Regions from separate parts of the Homo sapiens genome. Here all the other regions are linked to region 2. The links are contacts of gene promoters, found by promoter capture Hi-C in blood cells and fetal thymus (Javierre and others, 2016). All regions are on one chromosome and are shown on one strand. Each heading gives the region's core, a stretch centred on a gene start or on the middle of the fragment in contact. The rest is flanking DNA. Distances are from core to core; before and after follow the strand shown. Region 1 holds the start of GLIS2 (GLIS family zinc finger 2). Region 2 holds the start of GLYR1 (glyoxylate reductase 1 homolog). Region 3 holds the start of TFAP4 (transcription factor AP-4). Region 4 has its middle 21 kb from the start of GLIS2.

Region 1 (4,375 bases), core at 355-2,854, 530 kb before region 2:
AGCATCGATTGTGTGTCCACATAACCCATGAGCACCTGCTATGTGTCCATCTGGGCACCAGCCCATGAGCACCTACTATGTGTGCATTCTCTTAAAATGCAATGAGCATCGATTGTGTGTCCACATAACCCATGAGCACCTGCTATGTGTCCATCTGGGCACCAGCCCAGGAGCACCTACTATGTGCCAAGCCTTGTGCCTGCCATGGATGCCTTGTGATCAAGAGCCACGTGCTTCGGGCTCTGGCGGGGACCGCAGCATCAAATGCACGAATGAAGACGGACTTAAAACCAGCGTCAGATGCCTCACCTCTAGGGGATGCTGATTCTGGGATGCCTTTTTCGTCTCCTAGGCTCCTCAAGGCCAACTGCGCTGGGAAGAGGGGGTGTCCAACAGCAGGAGGGCTGTTTTTTTGAACTACAATTTGCCAGCATACAGCAGAGCAGCAAGAAGATAACAGGGCGGGGGGCACGGGATTAGCCCAAACAAAACACACTCAAGAACGCGAGTCTGTGGTTCAACACGAGGCAGAAAACAGCTGGGCCGGGTGCGGGGCTTCTCCCTCGCGTGTATCCGCTCACTGCACTCGCTGCCCTGGCCGCGGGCGCCGCGCAGGGTGCTGATGTCCAGGAGGGATCTAGACCTCCCGCGGCGCTCGGGCTAGTGGACGCAGGTGGTCCCAAATGCTGGGACCAAGCTAGGAACCAAGCGGAAGCTCGGATTGCTCGGCATCGGGCCTCGTCGTTATTCTACCGTGAGGGAAACTGAGACCGAGGGCACGGCAGGGAGTCGCCCGCCGTCTCACCAGCGTGAGGGGTTGCGCCGGGCCCCGAAAACTGGTTTGCGCCGCCCGGCATCGGGATCCGGGACCTCTGCCCGCCGGGCGCTGCCTGCGCGTTCCTGGAACTGGGCTGGGCGGAGAAATCAGGGCCCGCAGAGAGGCATTCCTGCCGCCTTCCCCGCCGCCCGGGGCCGCAGGGGGGCCTGGCCAAGGTGACCCCGCGGGAGGAGGCGAGGGGTCCCCGCCCGCTCCGCCGCCGCGACCTCCTCCATCTTCCCGGTCTGCGGGGCTTTTCCTCTGGGCCCGCGCGCCCGGCCCCCTCCTCGGGCTTCCCCGAGGGCGGGACGTCTCGGGCTCCCCCGCCCCCCCAGGCCACCTCCCGGCCGTGTCCTAGCGCTGCCCTCGGGCCGGGGGCGGGGCCGCGGGGGGGGGGTGGCGTGAGGATGGGGCCGAGGAGGACGCGCGCGGCTCGGCGCCCCACTTCCCTCCCTCACCCCTCCCTCCCGGTGCCCGCTCCCCGCGGCCGCGCCGCCCTCCCTTCCCCCTCCCTCGGCCCAGCGCCGGCTCCCGCCGCCCCCTCCCCCGACGCGCACGCCCCGCCTGGCAGCTGGCGCCCCGGGCCTGGGGCCGCAGCGGTGAGAGGGGTTTTGCTGGGAGGGAGGGAGCGAGCGAGCGAGGGGAGGGGTGGAGGCCGCCCCCCGCGCCCCTCCTCCTCGCCCTCCTCCGCGGCCGGCGGGCCCTCCTCCCGCCGCCTCCCTCCTCCCTCCTCCCGCCCGCCCGCCCTCCCTCTAAGACATCCCCGCACGGCCCGGCCGCCGCGGCCACCTTCCCTGCCCGAGCTGCAGATGTGGCGGAGCGGCCGGGCGCCGGGCGGCCGTGCCAGGGGAGCCCGCGCCCCGTGAGGCCTCGCGCCCCGGCCCCCGCCCGTCCCGGCCCCTCCCCCGCTCGGCTCCCCGCGCCCCCCGACCGCCGGAGCCCGCAGCCCGGATCCCGACCGCCCCCGCCGCTGAGGTAGGAAGCCCCCCGGGCGTCGCGCCGTGGGGACCGGGCCGGGGCGGGGGGGGGGGGGCCCGCCTGTCGCGCCGGGGCTGCGGGGCCCGAGGGTCTCCTCCCCCGCTCGCGTCCGCGCCCCGGGCCATTGTGAGCCCTCGCCGAGGCCCCCGCGTTCGCTCGCTCGCTGGCTCGCGCGCTCCCTCCCTCGCCGGCTCCCCGGCCGGGTCCCTCGAGCTCTCGGTCTTTCTTCTCCCTCCTTCCTTCCCTCCGTCTGGAGGCCGGGCCGAGCAGCGCCCGGGCCCGGGGCGGGCGCAAACTTCAGCTGGGAAGTTGGGCGGCCGCGGTGGGGGGCGTGCGGCGAGGTGAGAGGGGGGTACCCGGAGCCTGGGCATGAAGTTGTCCGGGGCAGCCGCCCCTCCTCTCGGCCGCGCCGGGGCTGCTGCTAGGAAGGGCTTTGGAAGGTGCCTCCTCCCTTGGCCGGGAGAGTCTCCCTCCTGCTGCCCCTCGCAAGCCCGGGTCCTTCCTTGGACCTCGGGAAGGGGCGTCCCTGGGGGGTCAGGACTGGGAGTTTGGGACAAGTCAGGCACTTGTTACTCCCCTGCGGTCCGGGTGGACGCAGGCGACCGGCCTGGCAGGGAGGAGATGGCAAGGGGTCCATACTCGCCGGAGGGCGGGTCTGGAGCGGGTGGAGGAGGGGGCGAGGCAGGTGCATCCCGAGGGAGGAGAAGCACGCACAGCTTCCCCGCTGGCCCCCTGGGATGGGGCTGGAATCCAGGCTGGCACCTGGAGGCCTTGGCATGCTGCCCTGCCCAGCAGGGTACTCGGGCCACAGCAGGGCAGCGTGCAGCCTGTCTGCCTGTCCAGGAGGGCCCGCCCAGCCTGGCCAGAGGGTGGCCGGGAAGCAATGGTTTCAAGGAGTTGCCCAGCCCTGCCCTGGGGCCTGGGAAGCTGGAAGGGATGCTGGGAGGGGCCCTGGGCCCCCAGCCATCACAGCCCAGGATCTTGGCTCTGGAGGGAACGCTTGACACTGAGGGGGCAGCCAGGCCGGCTGGGGACCTGGCCAAGGCCTGGGCTTGGTCTGGGCCATGGAAAGGGCCTGGGCCATGGTTCTTGGAGGCTGGCACCCTGGGTAGTAGGCCGCCATCCTGCGTGTCCTGGCATCCTGGAGGGAAGGTGGGGCCAGCCTGCGGCTGGGGAGGAAGCCCAGAGACACTGCGCTTCGGAGGGCCTTCCAGCCCCCGGGCTCAGGGGAGGGGAAACTGGCCCCTTGGGTCACCCCTCCCCAAGCCCCATTCTGGTGCCACAGTGCCACAGCTGTCCAGGCCCAGCCCACACACCCATCCCGGGTGACCTCGGACCTCCCCCTCTGCTTCTCCTTCTCCCCAGAGCCCAGGCTGGGCCTCCTAGCTGGCCTGGCCTGCACAGGGGGAGGGGCTGCACCTGGGAGGCCCCTCCCAGGACACCCTTTGCCAAGCTCCAGCCTGGCCCATTTCACTGCCCACCTCCAGCTCAACTTGGCCCTGTCTGCAGCCAGCCAAGCAGGAGACAGTGCCAGGGACTTGGGATGGTGTTTTGGGGGGTGTGCGGACCCCTTGGAAGCAACCCTGTTTTTCTTAGCCTTTCCTCCTCCCCCTCCTTTCCGGAGCTGCCATTAGCGCTGACCCCCTGTGCCTGCCCGCCCTTCCCTGTCTGTGACCTTTGACCTTTGGTGTTAAATCCCTCCAGCTGGGGCTCTTCGGCCCCTGAGTGACCCTGGCCCAGGCCCCCTGGGGAGTTCTCTCCTTGCTCCTGGCTCTCTACACAGGGACACCTGCCAGTCCCTCCCTCACCAATGGGGAGGGGGTGCCCTGGGAAGCCAGACAGTGAGTCACCCCACTTCCAGGCACCGCTGCTTTTGGGGTCAGTGGCTTCTGGGGATTGGCTGGAGCCCAGTCACAGCTTGGAGGGTGACCGGGGAAAGCCCCTGGCCTGGGAGTCTCCTGCCCTGGGTTCAAGTCTTGGCTCCACCACCAACTTCCAGTGGTCCTTGGGTCAGACTCCTCCCCTCTCCCGGCCTTGTCTATGAAACCAAGGGGTCAGACCAGGTGAGCTCCCAGAGTCCATGAGAAGCCTGGGTGGAGGGGGGTCAGGGGGAGGAAAGAGGGTGTAAATCCAGCAAAAGCCAACTCTCAATTATCCGAGGGTGGAGCCCGGATGAATAACTGGATGCCACAGACATCCCAAAACCTCATTGCAAACAATCGTGTGAACCGCGTCCCCCCAAAGCTTTTGTTTCTGAGAAACCCAGCTGCAACTGGGTAGCCACAGCGATTTCTTCCCCCGCCTGAACTCCCCTTGCAGGGAGGACAAGTAGAGGGCTGAGAGTGAACAGGCCGGAGGGAAAACAAAGGTCTCCCAGGGCCCCTTCTTGGGGCCTGGAGGGAGGCCTGGACCCCATTTCCAAGGCCCCCACTCTCCCCTCCACCCTCCTTCCCGGCCTGGCCTTGGCCCCGGGCGGTGGGAGTGTCCTCTCACCACCTAATCCTCTCAGGGTCTGGGCAGCCATATAGGAGGAAGAATGTGTTTTCCCGGCAACAATTTCCCATGTGTATTTCTAGCCAC
Region 2 (4,220 bases), core at 1,694-4,193:
CACTTAGTTTTACACATGAGAACATGATTGAACAATTACTTTTATTAACATAAATAAAAGTTTCCACTGTATACCCCAAGCATGAACCATAATGATATATGGCATTAAAAGAGAACTGAACATGGCTTTTATAAAAATAATTGCCAGCTGGGCGCAGTGGCTCACGCCTATAATCCAGCACTTTGGGAGGCCAAGGCAGGTGGATTGCTTGAGTCCAGGAGTTCAAGAACATCCTGGGCAACATGGTAAAACCCCCTCTACAAAAAATTAGCTGGGCATGGTGGTGCACACCTGTGGTCCCAGCTACTCGGGAGGCTGAGGTGAGAGAACCGCTTGAGTCAGTGAGGCAGAGGTTGCGGTGAACTGAGACTGCCTCTGCACTCCAGGCTGGGTGACAGACTAAGTCTCTGTCTCAAAAACAAACAAAAAGGAACTGCCTTTGGAGTTGGGTAAAGAAACATGTGAGAAACTGTTTCAATGTGATTGTTATAGTTAGAAGGTAAATGAACCTAGTTCTTGCCTGACTTAGTTATAGACCTAGGACAGTTGTCTAGGGCAATTTCTGCAAGAAATTGCACCTTTATTTAGGTATGAAGGCAGAATGAGATGCCAGTATTACACATTATAAGAAGACTGAACTAAGGATCCTTAGAATATTTTCAAAGCAGCTCAGACTCCAGGTAACACAGAAAGAAAGGCGAAGGGAGACTCCTGGTGAGTACTACTCACTGATCTTCTGTTCCAAAAAATTTCACAAAGAAGCATTTCTTTCCGCGAGGTTTCTTCAAGTCCTTTGGTGGATTAACAATCTGGAGGATAAAAGGGGGGAAAAAGGTTGGCTGGCAACACAGCAGCCCACTTTCTAGTGGCTCCACATTGCTCTACAGTTCTACGTTGCTAAGAAAAAAGTAAATTAAAAGGACTTACTTACAAATAAATTTATTTATATACAAAACAGAACCCAAGGCCTAGTACTTGTCTAAATCTCCCATTTTTCTATTGAGGTGTATGGAAATGTGTAGATATTCTAGAAGTTCCCAATATTTAACATGTAGCACAGTGCTCAGTAGACACAATATCCCTTTTACTGCAGTGGCCCTGTTTTACAAGCAGTTAAAACTAAGATCAACAGCATCCCCTGCCCCCCACCACCCCACCCCTGCTCCAATGTGACCCCATTATTACTGAAAAAATGCAGACGACACTCTTTGAAATACTTCCTGTGCAGGAAGGGTTGACACAGGACATAGTGAAAACAAAGGACAACCGAGGCACAGAAAACACCATATTGCAAAGAGACCATCTAAAGACACCTCCCGGGCTCCAAGCAAGAATATAAAAACACAACATTTGGAAAGCAATGATGGATCACCTCATGCAAAATCTGGAATGCCAACTTCTGCAAAGAGGCACTGGAGTAGCACATATGGTAACATGGAAAGAAGATTTAAACTTAGTTGGGACAAAAATACTTTGGCTTTTCACTAACCTACATTTAGACTTTCTTCCTGGATAATTTATATTTTCTTCTCCTTTTGTTACATTTAAGCATAAAGCTAAATTCAGACTAGAATTATTTCCGGGGTTAAAAAAGAAACTTCATAAACCTCCTCTAAATCCAGAAATAAGGGTTTAGAGAAGATTTAATGATCTGGTGTATACTGCATTGCCTTTTAAAAAATAACCGATACTAGGGGAAAAAAAATTCTAAGTGCCATCTGAATGAGCCCAATTTAACTCAATACTAGAAACTGAGAGGAATGCATCTTACATTCTCCACCTCTTCAAACCCAACTTCAGATCTCTTCCTTTAGTAGCAAGACACTCACCTTTCCTGGCCAAGGAGGATATCGGCCGAGTTTCCCCCTAGAGAAAACACAAAGAGTCAACACTTGCCCTGCAAAAGCCAGTCCATCTCCTTCAACCCACTCAATACGCAATTTATTTTCCTAAATCTCTGCTGGCATCCTCAAATGCCGAAACAAAAGCTTTCATAGCTGGGCCCAACACCCTCAGAAGTAAAATGCAAAATTGTATACTTATGTGCACAACGCATATCCATTCTTCTGTTGACAAGGAATACAGAACAACACAACTGTCAAAAGTCACTTGTCTAGAGCTTCTTAATGACGGGGGTGGGAGGACAGCTTCCTCTGTAAACACAGACTTTCCCTCCCTAAGTCTGGTTTAATTCAACAGGAGACCTGCCTGGCTTTGACAAATGCTAATGGAAGCCTTCCTCTGGGTGGAGAAACAAGCTACGCAGCTCGAGGGAGGCGGCGACAAAGTCTTGGTTCGGGCGGTTGTCTGGGACACAGAAGCAGACCGCGGGAGGCACCCAAGCGTGCACTGGTCACTGCCAAGCCATCGGTTGTAAAGGAGAAGTCCCCCCGCCGTTTCTTCGCGGGGCAACGCCAGCAGTCCGGTTTAGACAACCCCGGCTGAGCCGGCCGCACAGGTCGGCTGCATCGCAACCTGGGCTTTGACCGAATGGCACCGGCCAGATCTCGCAGGTCCGGTCCCCGGCGCTTCTGCTTTCTGGGAAGCCCCAACAAGACCCCGGGGACCGGTCGTCCGGGGAAGCCTCGCGGCACCGGCGGCTCCCTTCACGGGGGCCGCCAGTATCTGGGCCCCGAGTGCAGACCCCACCCGGCCGGCCTCGGGGATCAAAGCCGGTGCCCGACGTGGCCACCCTCGGCCTCGGTCCCCCGGGACTGGACTGCCCCTTCCGCCTGGCGCCGCTCGCAAGCGCCGGCACCTTCTCTTCCCCTCTCTCCGCGACCTGGAGCGCATAAAAAGGCAGCTCCAGGGCCGGCAGCGAACCCCGCGCCCAGGCGGGTAGCTCCCCGGCGCGTCTCGGTTGGCCCGGCCGCTCGGACTCACCACACCAAGTCGCCGAGCCGCAGACTCACAGCCGCCATCTTACCACCCAACCACCGCCGACGCACGGGCCGCCGGGAACAGCAAGTCGCCCCGGCGCCGCCCATTGGAGTGGGCCCGACCACGTGACGGGGGCCGGCTGTCACTGGCCACGCCGCTACTCTGACGTCACCGCGCCCGCCGGGGATCATTGGTCGACCGAGGGGCACGTGACGCGAGCGCCGCGGTCTCCGCGCGCCGGAGCGCAGAGACTCCCGGCTCCTTCCCCCTCCCTTCGGCTCGTGACAACGAAGCGCCCGCGGTCTGAGGCGGCGGCGGCGGCGACGGTGCGACCGGCTGAGCGCGAGAGGGAGCCGGCCTCGCGGCTCGCCCCGCCCCCGGGTCTTGGACTCCGCGCCCCTCCCCTCTCGGCGCTTCCGTTACGCCCGTTGGTCCGGCGCGGGCCCCGGGGCCATTCCCGAGCCCGAGGCGCTGGTCGGCCCCGTCGCAGCGCCAGTGAGCTACCCTGACGGAGCTCGGCGCGGCCTGGAACTCAGCCTCCGCCGGGTCTGGGCTCCCGCGCCCGGCAACTCTGCTTGGCCGCAGGCCGGGAGGCCCCGGTGTCCGCGCCCGTCCGCTCCCGCCGCCCGTGTTCTTTGGAGCGCTCCTCCCGACGGCCGCTTTCGGAGGCGCCGTCTGAGCGCGGGGTCCCGCGCCGCAAGTTCTCCTGGGGCGACCGGAGGCTGCTCCCCCGACCCCCTGGTGTCCCCGGAGTGGCTGCGCGGACGTCGAGTTGGCATTTCTTCGCTTCCTCCTGGGCCGGCGCGCGGCGCGGCACACCAGGCTCCCCTGGGCTCGGGGACCCGGCCATGGGCCGAGGCGCGGGCCGCCCGCCCGCTGGGAGCCACGGCTTAGCAGCCGACCGCTAGCTGCGCCGCCGCCCGGGGACCGGCATGAGGACCGCCGCGGGGGGACGTCTGCGGCCCGCGTCGGCGCTGGGGACAAAGGTGCGTGTCGTTGTCGGGTCCGGGCTCTCTCGTTAGCCTTGCCCTAGTTTTGCACTTTTGAAAAAGTTGTGACAACAGGAAGACAGATGCCGGGCGTAGTTTGGACACTTTAAAACTGAACCATGAACTGGGAAGTGTTAACTGCAGTTGAGCGCAGCGTCGGCCCAAACTTCAGCAGACCAGGTAGAATCACAATTTTGCAAAAGATCCCAGTCCCGATCACAGACTCCACAGTGTTAAGGATTGACTTAGACTTGGTGTCGGGCTCTTGTTGAGTCACTGCCAGCTGGCAAAGGTGGCGAGTCGACACGCATTTCCCCAAGGCATTGTGGTGGTTAGAGATTTCGGTTGCAA
Region 3 (4,256 bases), core at 1,185-3,684, 570 kb before region 2:
CATGTCCAACCCTGGACGAAGGCCCTACACCTTCAAGTCCTTGGCCTACCAAGATCCAGCTACCCTGGGGGACTGCTGGTATGCTCCAAAGGAACGCTTGGGGCAGGGATAAATTGAAGCCAGAATCTCAGGGGGCCCTGAGAGGACTCACCCAAGGCCCAGGCATGGCAGCCAGAGGGCCCCCCAACCCTGCCCAGGATCAGGCCCAGAATGTCTTCTCCAGTAGGCACAGCGGCTCAACTGCACCTCCGCGCTGCCCAGCCCAGCCCTGCAGCAGCAGCAACCCCAGGACAAGGGTTCAAGTTCCAGTTCCACCACCTGCTGTAGTGGTCCCTTCTCCAGTCTCTGTGTCCGCCTCTTTAAGCGGAATCAAAAGACACTTTTGACTCATAGAAAGATTATGACAACTCAGTGAGAAAATTCTAGCAAAGTGAGTCCCCAGAACATAAAAAGAGCTCAAGAATTTTTTTTACTTATTATTACTGGGCCCTCCAGGTGGGCCTCGTGCAAGGGCCAGCCCTCGGGGCATCCCTGCCAGCTGCCAAACCCATCAACTGGCCCAAGTCTAGGTATTGACTGGGAACTTCAGAGTAGCCTTAAGGTGGGGACCCCCGGGGCAGAGGGTTGGGCAGGAGTGTCTACACGTGTGCAGCAACCTTCCCTCCAGGCCGGATTCTGCAGGCGCTAGCGTCCACCAGCCTGTGCCACACCGGCGGGCTCCTCCTCCCTCAATCCCCGCCCAGACTGCCTCGGGCGGCAGAGCACGTGGCTCCAGCCCTGGGGAGCCATTTCGCTCCTGGAGCAGCGCGGCAGGAAAGGGGCCACAGGTCCCAAACTTGCGCACGCCGTAGAACGCCCACCTCCCCCACACCACGCCCAGGGGGTCGTTCAAAATGCAGATGTCCGGGCCCCAGCGATCAGAGTTCCAGGCATGTGCATTTTAAGAAGTGTGCGGGGTGGTTTGGCTGTGTGTGGTCCTTGAGTCCATCACCCTTTGGGTTTAGAGCAACCTAGGACCAAAGCTTGCAAAGTGGCTTCTGGGGAGGCCTGCGGACCTCGGGCCACCCACCCGGCTGGGGGACCCGACGCTTTCGGTTTACGGCAGGGGGGAGGGGCGTTGGATGGGAAAGTTTGCAGAGGAAACCCACGTGCGGCGGGAAGCTGCCCTGCGAGGCTAGGGGCGGCCTCAGGTGTCCCTTCCCCAAATGGCCTGCCCACCTGGCCTGCCTTGCCCATCGTGCCCGCGGGGGCCGAGCTTTGTGCAGGGAAAGCGTGGCCCAGGAGCGCCTACAAATCCCACAATGCTGCACCAGCAGGACACGGAGAACTACAGCTCCCGCGAGGCCGCGCGCAGAGGTCCGCCTACTCCAAGAGGGCTGCAGAGTCACGTCCAGGCCTCGCTAGTAAACAGCGCCCGGGCGCGGGCGGGCGAGCGAGCGGCAGCCAACGTGCCCCGGGCCGCGGCGCCCCTACCGGCCGCGCGGGCCCCTCGGGGTCCGCCCACCCCCAACACCCACACGCGAGCACGCCCCCGACCCCGCTGCAGCCCCGCTCTGCAAACACGCACAGTGCCCGGCTCCCCGCCCCCACCCCGCGCCGGGAGCCGCGGCATGGCTGCATTGTAGCCGCCCTAGCTACACCCCCACGCGCGCCCCGGGCCCCCAGACCCCCTTGGATGGGGACGACCTCAGATCCCGAGGAAGGAAGGAGAGGAAGGAAGCCGCCGCAGGAGGGGGAAAGAGGAAGCGCGGGGGGGAAGGCCACCAGCACCAAGCATGGCCGGGACTGCTGCAGAACCACGTGGGTCTGTTTGCAATTTACAAACGTCGCGACTCGCCCGCCTGCAGCGGACAAAAGTGGCCGGGGCCGCTTGGGGCCCCCATGCTCCAAGGAAGGAGGGTCCCGGGGCGGCGCGGACCCGGCGTGTGGGGCTGCAGCCGTCCCGGCAGCTAAGAAAGGCTAGCGGGGTCGGCGGCGCGGGCCATGCGTGCGCACACGCGCGCCCGCCCGGGCGGGCTGGCCGGGGGCTGCAGTGGTAGGAAGGGGGTGGGGGGAGGAGGAGTACACACCTACAGAGCCCTCCTATCACTTCTTTCTCTGTTTTCCTGAAATGTTGCAAAGAGGGCACCTTCTGAGTGGGCACCATGAAATACTCCATAGCGATCGGCCCCCCTCCTCTGCACGAGCCAGGTCCCGCGATCAGCCGGAGAATGCAAGATGGAAATCCGAATCAAAGGGCAGCGCCGGACGGAGGTGCAGAATCGGCCGGTCCCAGATGCTGGCGGCGGCGGCGGCGGCGAGGGGAGGGAGGCGGGCGGGAGGGGCGGGAGGGAGGTCTCTCCGGCCTGCCTCCCCGGGCGTGTGTATGTGTGTGTGTGTGTGTGTGTGTGTGTGTGTGTGTGTGTGTGTGTGTGTTTGCAGCTGATCAGATGTCTGTTTCAAGGCGGGAAACAGCTGGTGAAAACTCAGCACTCCCCCGGCCTCCTTCCGCGGAGTAAGGAATTGCATGTAAACAAAGGACTATTTGCAGCGCCCCCCGGGCGGCGCGAGGCCGGGGCGAGAGGGGCGCGGGCCCCCGGGGACCGGCTGCAACCGGGGTCTGCAGGCCTCTCGCGGGGCGCAGGGGGCCGGGGGCCGCGGGCGGGCTTGCGGGGCGCGGCGTGAATGGAGCGAGCTGCGGCCGAGCTACATGCGCCACTATGGGTGATGAGGTCCATCAGCTGACAGGTTGGCAAGCGTTGCAAAAAAAAAAAAAAAAAGGCCAGCCACCGCGCAGGGAGCCCAGCCCGTGCAGCCCGGAGTCCAGCAGCGACTGGCCCAGAGCAGGGTCCGCGCGCTCGGCCGGCCCGCAGGGAGGAGGGGGCGCGGCTGGGTCGGGCGTGCAGCGGCAGCAAGGAAGGCGGCCTGGGGTTCGCGCTTGGGGCTTCTGCTTTTTCACCATTGCAGCTGCACGGAGCGGAGCCTCTCCGGTGTGCTCCCTTCGAGCCGAGCCCAGGGCCCCCTGGAAACTTGCGTCACAGCCACCGCTTCCCACATGTAACTCGGGGCTGACTTCGGAGGCCGGCCAGCTTCCTCCCTCCCGCCTTGCTTAGCTGGCCGCACGGCCGGGACTCCGGATCCTGGGAATCTTGGACCCGGCGACGGGACGGCAAAGGGCGCCTCGGATGCTGGGGCCGCCCTAGGAAGCCGGGGGCCCCGGCAGGGAGGGGAGGGTGGAGGCGGGCCTGAACGGCAGCGGCCCCCGGGCGCAGGCTGCCAGCGCTGCGGGGAGGTCTGCTGGTTGCTGCCGGGTCCCCTGCTATTCCCCCAGACCCGCACTGTTCCCTCCGCGGGCTGAAGGCTGCAGCTTCCCATTCATAACAAAGCCCGTGTGGGACTTGCCCCTCCGCCAGGATGCGCTCCCCAAGAGGGGGTGACGACTTGGGGCAGGGACGGGGACCCTGGCGGCGAGCTTCCGTCCTCCGCTCGCACGCCGCACCTTCCGGCCCCAGGCCCTCCCCTGGCTCCTGGAGGGTTGGCTCCTGGCTCAGGAAGCCCACGCCTGCCTTGGAATGTCCTGGATCCTGCCCACCGCCTTCCAGGTTCCGCCTAAATCGCGCCTCCTAATTTGACTTATTCCTACTAGTAACAATAGTTACTGTTATTATTGGGAAATATTGTTATTAGATGTTGCCAGCACCCGGTGGATGCCGAGCAGTTTTGCTTACACGCTCTCCAATCCTTGAAGCAACCTGTTAGGCAGTTTCTCTAAGGAGAGATCCCAGACCACTTGACCAAAAAAAAGTCTCTGGAAGGCTTACTATGTTTCTACTTAAAAAAAAAAAAAAAAAAAAAAAACTTTCGGCTGGGCGCGTTGGCTCACGCCTGTAATCTCAGCACTTTGGGAGGCTGAGGCGGGTGGATCACCTGAGGTCGGGAGTTCGAGACCAGCCTGACCAACATGGAGAAACCCCGTCTCTACTAAAAATGCAAAATTAGCCGGGGGCCTGGTGGCACATGCCTGTAATCTCAGCTACTCGGGAGGCTGAAGCAGGAGAATCGCTTGAACCCGGGAGGTGGAGGTTGCAGTGAGCCAAGATCATGTCATTGCACTCCAGCCTGGGCAACAAGAGTGAAACTCCGTCTCAAAAAAAAAAAAAAAAAAAAACCTTTTTACTGTTTTTCAACAAATAGAGATAGGAGTCTCACTGTGTTGCCCAGCCTGGTCTTGAACTCCTGGGACTCAAGGAATCCTACCTCTACCTCCCAAATTGCTG
Region 4 (4,237 bases), core at 1,423-3,922, 550 kb before region 2:
CCGCCGCGCCCCACCTGCACTCCTAGTTTCATCCTCACCATGGTGCCCTGAGTCCTATGATCACGCCCAAGGGGCTTGGCCAAGCCCATCACAGCCAGCCACTACCAGGGCCTGCACTTCTTTCAGGCTCCTCCAGATCCCCCCGTGGCTGCCCTGGAGAATGGCTTCCTGTTGGCCTCAAAACTCAAGAGCTTACCTGGTCCTGGTGGCTCAACCGTGGCCAGGTAAATCCGGGTACAAGAGGAGGGTCCCGCTGGGCATGACAAGGCATACGGAGGGAGAAAACATGGCCATGCATGAAACGACAAGGTCAGCTACCAGGTGAAATGTAGCCCCTTCCTGTGGGCTGATGGTCAGAGCCAGACTGTCAGAGGAAGGAGCAACTCGTAGGGGTCAGAAAGGGTTTTGGCTTCAAGTCTGTGCAGACAAGGAAGAAGCAAGCGCAGTAAGCACTGTGGAGTGGGGACCGGGGGCAGCAAAGGGACCGGCTCTGGGATTGCTCTCTCCTCCCTCAAGCCCGCCAGAGCTTGAGCCCCTGGTGCCCCTTTCCTGCTGTGCAGCTGCGGCCGCCAGCGCATCAGGGGTTAATGTCTGGCTGGTGCCGGCTTCAGCAGCAGCAGCAGCAACAGCAGCAACAGACAGTGGTGCCAGTAACTCAGAGGCTGAAATGTGAGAAGCAAGACGAGAGGGGCAGGGCTGGGAAAGGCTGAGCAGCAGCGAGCAGAGAGGGTTTCCCTGGCAGGAGCCACAGGAGGCTGCCTGGTCCTCCCTTCCATGGCCCTGCCGTACAGCTGGCCCTCCAGCCTCGGGCTGGGGTATGGCACCCTCTCAGGGTGGTGGGGGTGTCCATGGTCATGGCCAGCGTCCAAGCCCTTAGGCCACCGGGAAGCAGTTCCCTACTGCAGATCTAGGGAAGGGGCACAGGCGCCCAGGCAACCAGCAGAGAAGGCACCCGGCTCTGCCCGGCTCTGCAGGAAGCTCTAGGTGGGGAGATGGGGCAGTGGCAGAGTGGGGCCTGGAGAACCGAGGAGGAGGACAGGGAGATCCCTCGGGGTGTCCCAACCGCAGAGGCCTGGCCTCGACTTCACCCTTCCCCACCTTGGGAAAGCTGAGGCACAGGAAGCTTCCCTGATAAATGGATAAATGAGCCTCCTGCTGCTTGGGGGCAGGGAATGTCGCAGGGCTGCTGCCCCCTCCACGGGCCTGGGTGTCCGCCTGCCTTTGCACAGGCACCTCAGGGATGCATAAGCACCAACCAGAGAGGTGAGAGGTACCAGGCACAGCGCGAGTGCCTTATCCATACTCTTTTTTTTTTTTTAATAAAAAAAATAGGCCGGGCGCAGTGGCTCACACCTGTAATCCCAGCACTTTGGGAGGCCAAGGCAAGCGGATCACCTGAGGTCAGGAGTCGGACACCAGCCCGGCCAATACGGTGAAACCCTGTCTCTACTAAAAATACAAAAATTAGCTGGGCGTGGTGATGCACGCCTGTAGTCCCAGCTACGCGGGAGGCTGAGGCAGAAGAATCGTTTGAACCTGGGAGGTGGAGGTTGCAGTGAGCTGAGATCATGCCACTGCACTCCAAAATGGGTGACAGAGCAGGACTCTGTCTCAAAAAAAAAAAAAAAAAAAAAAGCTGGGCACGGTGGCTCATGCCTGTAATCACAGCACTTTGGGAGGCCAAGGCAGGCGGGTTGCTTGAGGCCAGGAGTTGGAGAGCAGCCTGGGCAATATGGTGAAACCCCATCTCTACTCAAAATACAAAAATCAGCTGGGGGTGGTGGTGGGCGCCCGTAATCCTAGCTAGTTGGGAGACTGAGGCAGGAGAATCACTTGAACCCAGGAGGCAGAGGTTGCAGTGAGATGAGATTGTGCCATTGCACTTCAGCCTGGGGGACAGAGGGAGACTCTGTCTCAAAAATAGATAGATTAGATAGATAGATAGACAGACAGACAGACAGACAGATAAAGGCCGGGTGTGGTGGCTCATGCCGCCCTGTAATCCCAGCATTTTGGGAGGCTGAGGCGGGCCGATCACTTGAAGTCAGGAGTTTAAGACCAGCCTGGCCAACATGACGAAACTCCATCTCTACTAAAAACGAGCAAAAATAGCCGGGCGTGGTGGTCCACGCCTGTAATCCCAGCTACTCCAGAGGCTGAGGCACAAGTATCGCTTGAACTTGGGAGGCAGAGCTTGCAATGAGCAGAGATTTCACCATTGCACTCCAGCCTGAGCGACAGAGCGAGACTGTGTCTCAAAAATAAAAAGGAACAAGGTGCTGATCTATGCTACAATATAGACGAACCTTGAAACATTAAGTGAAAAGCCAATCACAAGAGACCACCACTTTATTTGAAATGCCCAGAATAGGGAAATCCATAGAGGCAGAAAACAGGCTGGTGCGTTGCCAGGGCCTGGGAGGAAAGAGGAATGGGGAGTGGCTGCTTCTTGAGTATAGGGTTTCTTTTTGGGATGGTGAAAATGTTCTGAAATTAGATGTTGATGATGGTTGCACGACTCTGAATACACTAAAAACCACTGATTGTACACTTCAAAGAGGTGAATTTTACGGTATGTGAATTATATCTTATTTTTATTTTTTAATCTTTTTTTGAGATGGAGTCTCACTCTGTCACCCAGGCTGGAGTACAGTGGTGCGATCTCAGCTCACTGCAACCTCCACCTCCCTGGTTCAAGCGATTCTCCTGGCTCAGCCTCCCGAGTAGCTGAAACTACAGGCACCCACCACCACACCCGGCTAATTTTTTTAGTAGAGATGGGGTCTGGGGTTTCACCGTGTTAGCCAGGATGGTCTCGATCTCCTCAACTCATGATCCGCCCGCCTTGGCCTCCCAAAGTGCTAGGATTACAGGCGTGAGCCACTGTGCCCGGCCAAATTTTTGTATTTTTAGTAGAGACGGGGTTCACCATGTTGGCCAGGTTGGTCTCGAACTCCTGACCTCAGGTGATCTGCCGGTCTCAGCCTCCCAAAGTGCCGGGATTACAAGCATGAGCCACTGCTCCCAGCTTGATTTTATTTTTTATTTTTATTATTATTAACTAATTTATTTATTTTAGACAGAGTCTCTCTCTGTCACCCAGGCTGGAGTGCAGTGGCGCGAACTTGGCTCACTGCAAGCTCTGCCTCCTGGGTTCACGCCATTCTCCTGCCTCAGCCTCTGGAGTAGCTGGGACTACAGGCGCCCGCCACCACACCTGGCTAATTTTTTGTATTTTTAGTAGAGATGGGGTTTCACTGTGTTAGCCAGGATGCTCTCGATCTCCTAACCTTGTGATTTGCCTGCCTCGGCCTCCCAAAGTGCTGGGATTACAGGCGTGAGCGACTGCGCCCGGCCTATTTTTATTTTTTGAGACAGAGTCTCACTCTTGTCACCCAGGCTGGAGTGCAATGGCGCAATTTCGGCTCACTGCAACCTCTGCCTCCCAGGTTTAAGCAGTTCTCCTGTCTCAGCCTCCCGAGTGGTTGGGATTACAGGCACGCACCACCATGCCAAGCTAATTTTTATATTTTTAGTAGAGATGGGGTTTCGTCATGTTGGCCAGGCTGGTCTCAAACTCCTGACCTCAGGTAATCCACCCACCTTGGCCTCCCAAAGTGCTGGGATTACAGGTGTGAGTCACCCTTCTGACCCACTCCCAGGTTCCAGGAACAAGAATACAGGTCCTCTAATGGACAAAGCTCATTCAGGGACCCTCCAATGTGAATCGACCAGACACAGTCCTCATGTGTCATGGGAGGGGGACAGGCAGCAGCTCCTGGAGCGGAAGGACGCCTGGCCCCTCCTCCGGCCCCAGATGCAGCTGCAGGTACAGGGAGGGCCTCCCAGGGCAGGCCAGAGCCTGCAGGCCCCCAGCTGCAGCCCCAGCTGGGACCAGGCTTCTAACCTCACCCCTTTCTTGCTCCTCCCGCCTCCACCATCTCTCCTGTGGAGCCCCCAAGACTCTGGAGGAGAAATCAAATACAAAACTCCTAGGAGAACAGAAAGGGGGCTGCTGCTGCTGCGTGCAGACACACTCATGCACACCCACGCACACACATGCAAACACACACATGCACACCATCCTTCGAGCCCACAGGCAGATCACAGAGAACCTAGATGTCAGGATGAGAAAGGAACTAGACGTGAGCTATCATCTGCCTCCTTGGGGCAAGGCCTGTGCCAAGGGATTTGCCAGGATTGTCTCATCCAATCCTGAAAAGAAGCTTGGAGATTT

Evidence for each region. The method cuts DNA at HindIII sites, captures the fragments that hold promoters and counts their contacts. A CHiCAGO score of 5 or more calls a contact.
Region 1: the fragment with the promoter of GLIS2 here is called in contact with the fragment with the promoter of GLYR1 in region 2 in 2 of 17 cell types (total B cells and neutrophils); the score reaches 6.5 in total B cells.
Region 3: a contact is called between the fragment with the promoter of TFAP4 here and the fragment with the promoter of GLYR1 in region 2, in 6 of 17 cell types (fetal thymus, naive CD8 T cells, naive B cells and 3 more). The highest score is 9.2, in fetal thymus.
Region 4: a fragment that was not itself captured here is called in contact with the fragment with the promoter of GLYR1 in region 2 in 1 of 17 cell types (neutrophils); the score reaches 5.3 in neutrophils.

What each region holds. Positions count from the first base shown.
Region 1 is chr16:4,314,463-4,318,837 of GRCh38, forward strand. It overlaps GLIS2 (GLIS family zinc finger 2), which reads left to right and starts at 1,605. Exons shown (of 7, transcript NM_032575.3): 1 at 1,605-1,792. RefSeq lists enhancers at 1-232, 233-745, 2,867-3,517, 3,518-4,167 and a silencer at 146-440. The HindIII fragment of the contact is 6,668 bases long and covers 1-4,037 here.
Region 2 is chr16:4,844,345-4,848,564 of GRCh38, forward strand. GLYR1 (glyoxylate reductase 1 homolog) reads right to left here and starts at 2,944. Exons shown (of 16, transcript NM_032569.4): 1 at 2,884-2,944; 2 at 1,830-1,866; 3 at 730-809. The coding sequence starts at 2,921. It overlaps UBN1 (ubinuclein 1), which reads left to right and starts at 3,137. Exons shown (of 18, transcript NM_001079514.3): 1 at 3,137-3,866. RefSeq lists enhancers at 2,388-2,447, 2,748-2,807, 3,103-3,945 and silencers at 2,998-3,717, 3,728-3,817. The HindIII fragment of the contact is 6,120 bases long and covers 1,987-4,220 here.
Region 3 is chr16:4,270,589-4,274,844 of GRCh38, forward strand. TFAP4 (transcription factor AP-4) reads right to left here and starts at 2,435. Exons shown (of 7, transcript NM_003223.3): 1 at 2,070-2,435. The coding sequence starts at 2,158. RefSeq lists enhancers at 652-1,628, 1,170-1,359, 2,260-2,309, 2,606-3,581 and silencers at 1,440-1,599, 1,960-2,009, 2,730-3,379. The HindIII fragment of the contact is 8,835 bases long and covers 1,021-4,256 here.
Region 4 is chr16:4,293,365-4,297,601 of GRCh38, forward strand. No RefSeq gene overlaps it. Among named protein-coding and RNA genes, the nearest start is that of GLIS2, 21 kb to the right of the region's middle. RefSeq lists enhancers at 1,072-1,731, 3,371-4,237. The HindIII fragment of the contact is 3,103 bases long and covers 1,122-4,224 here.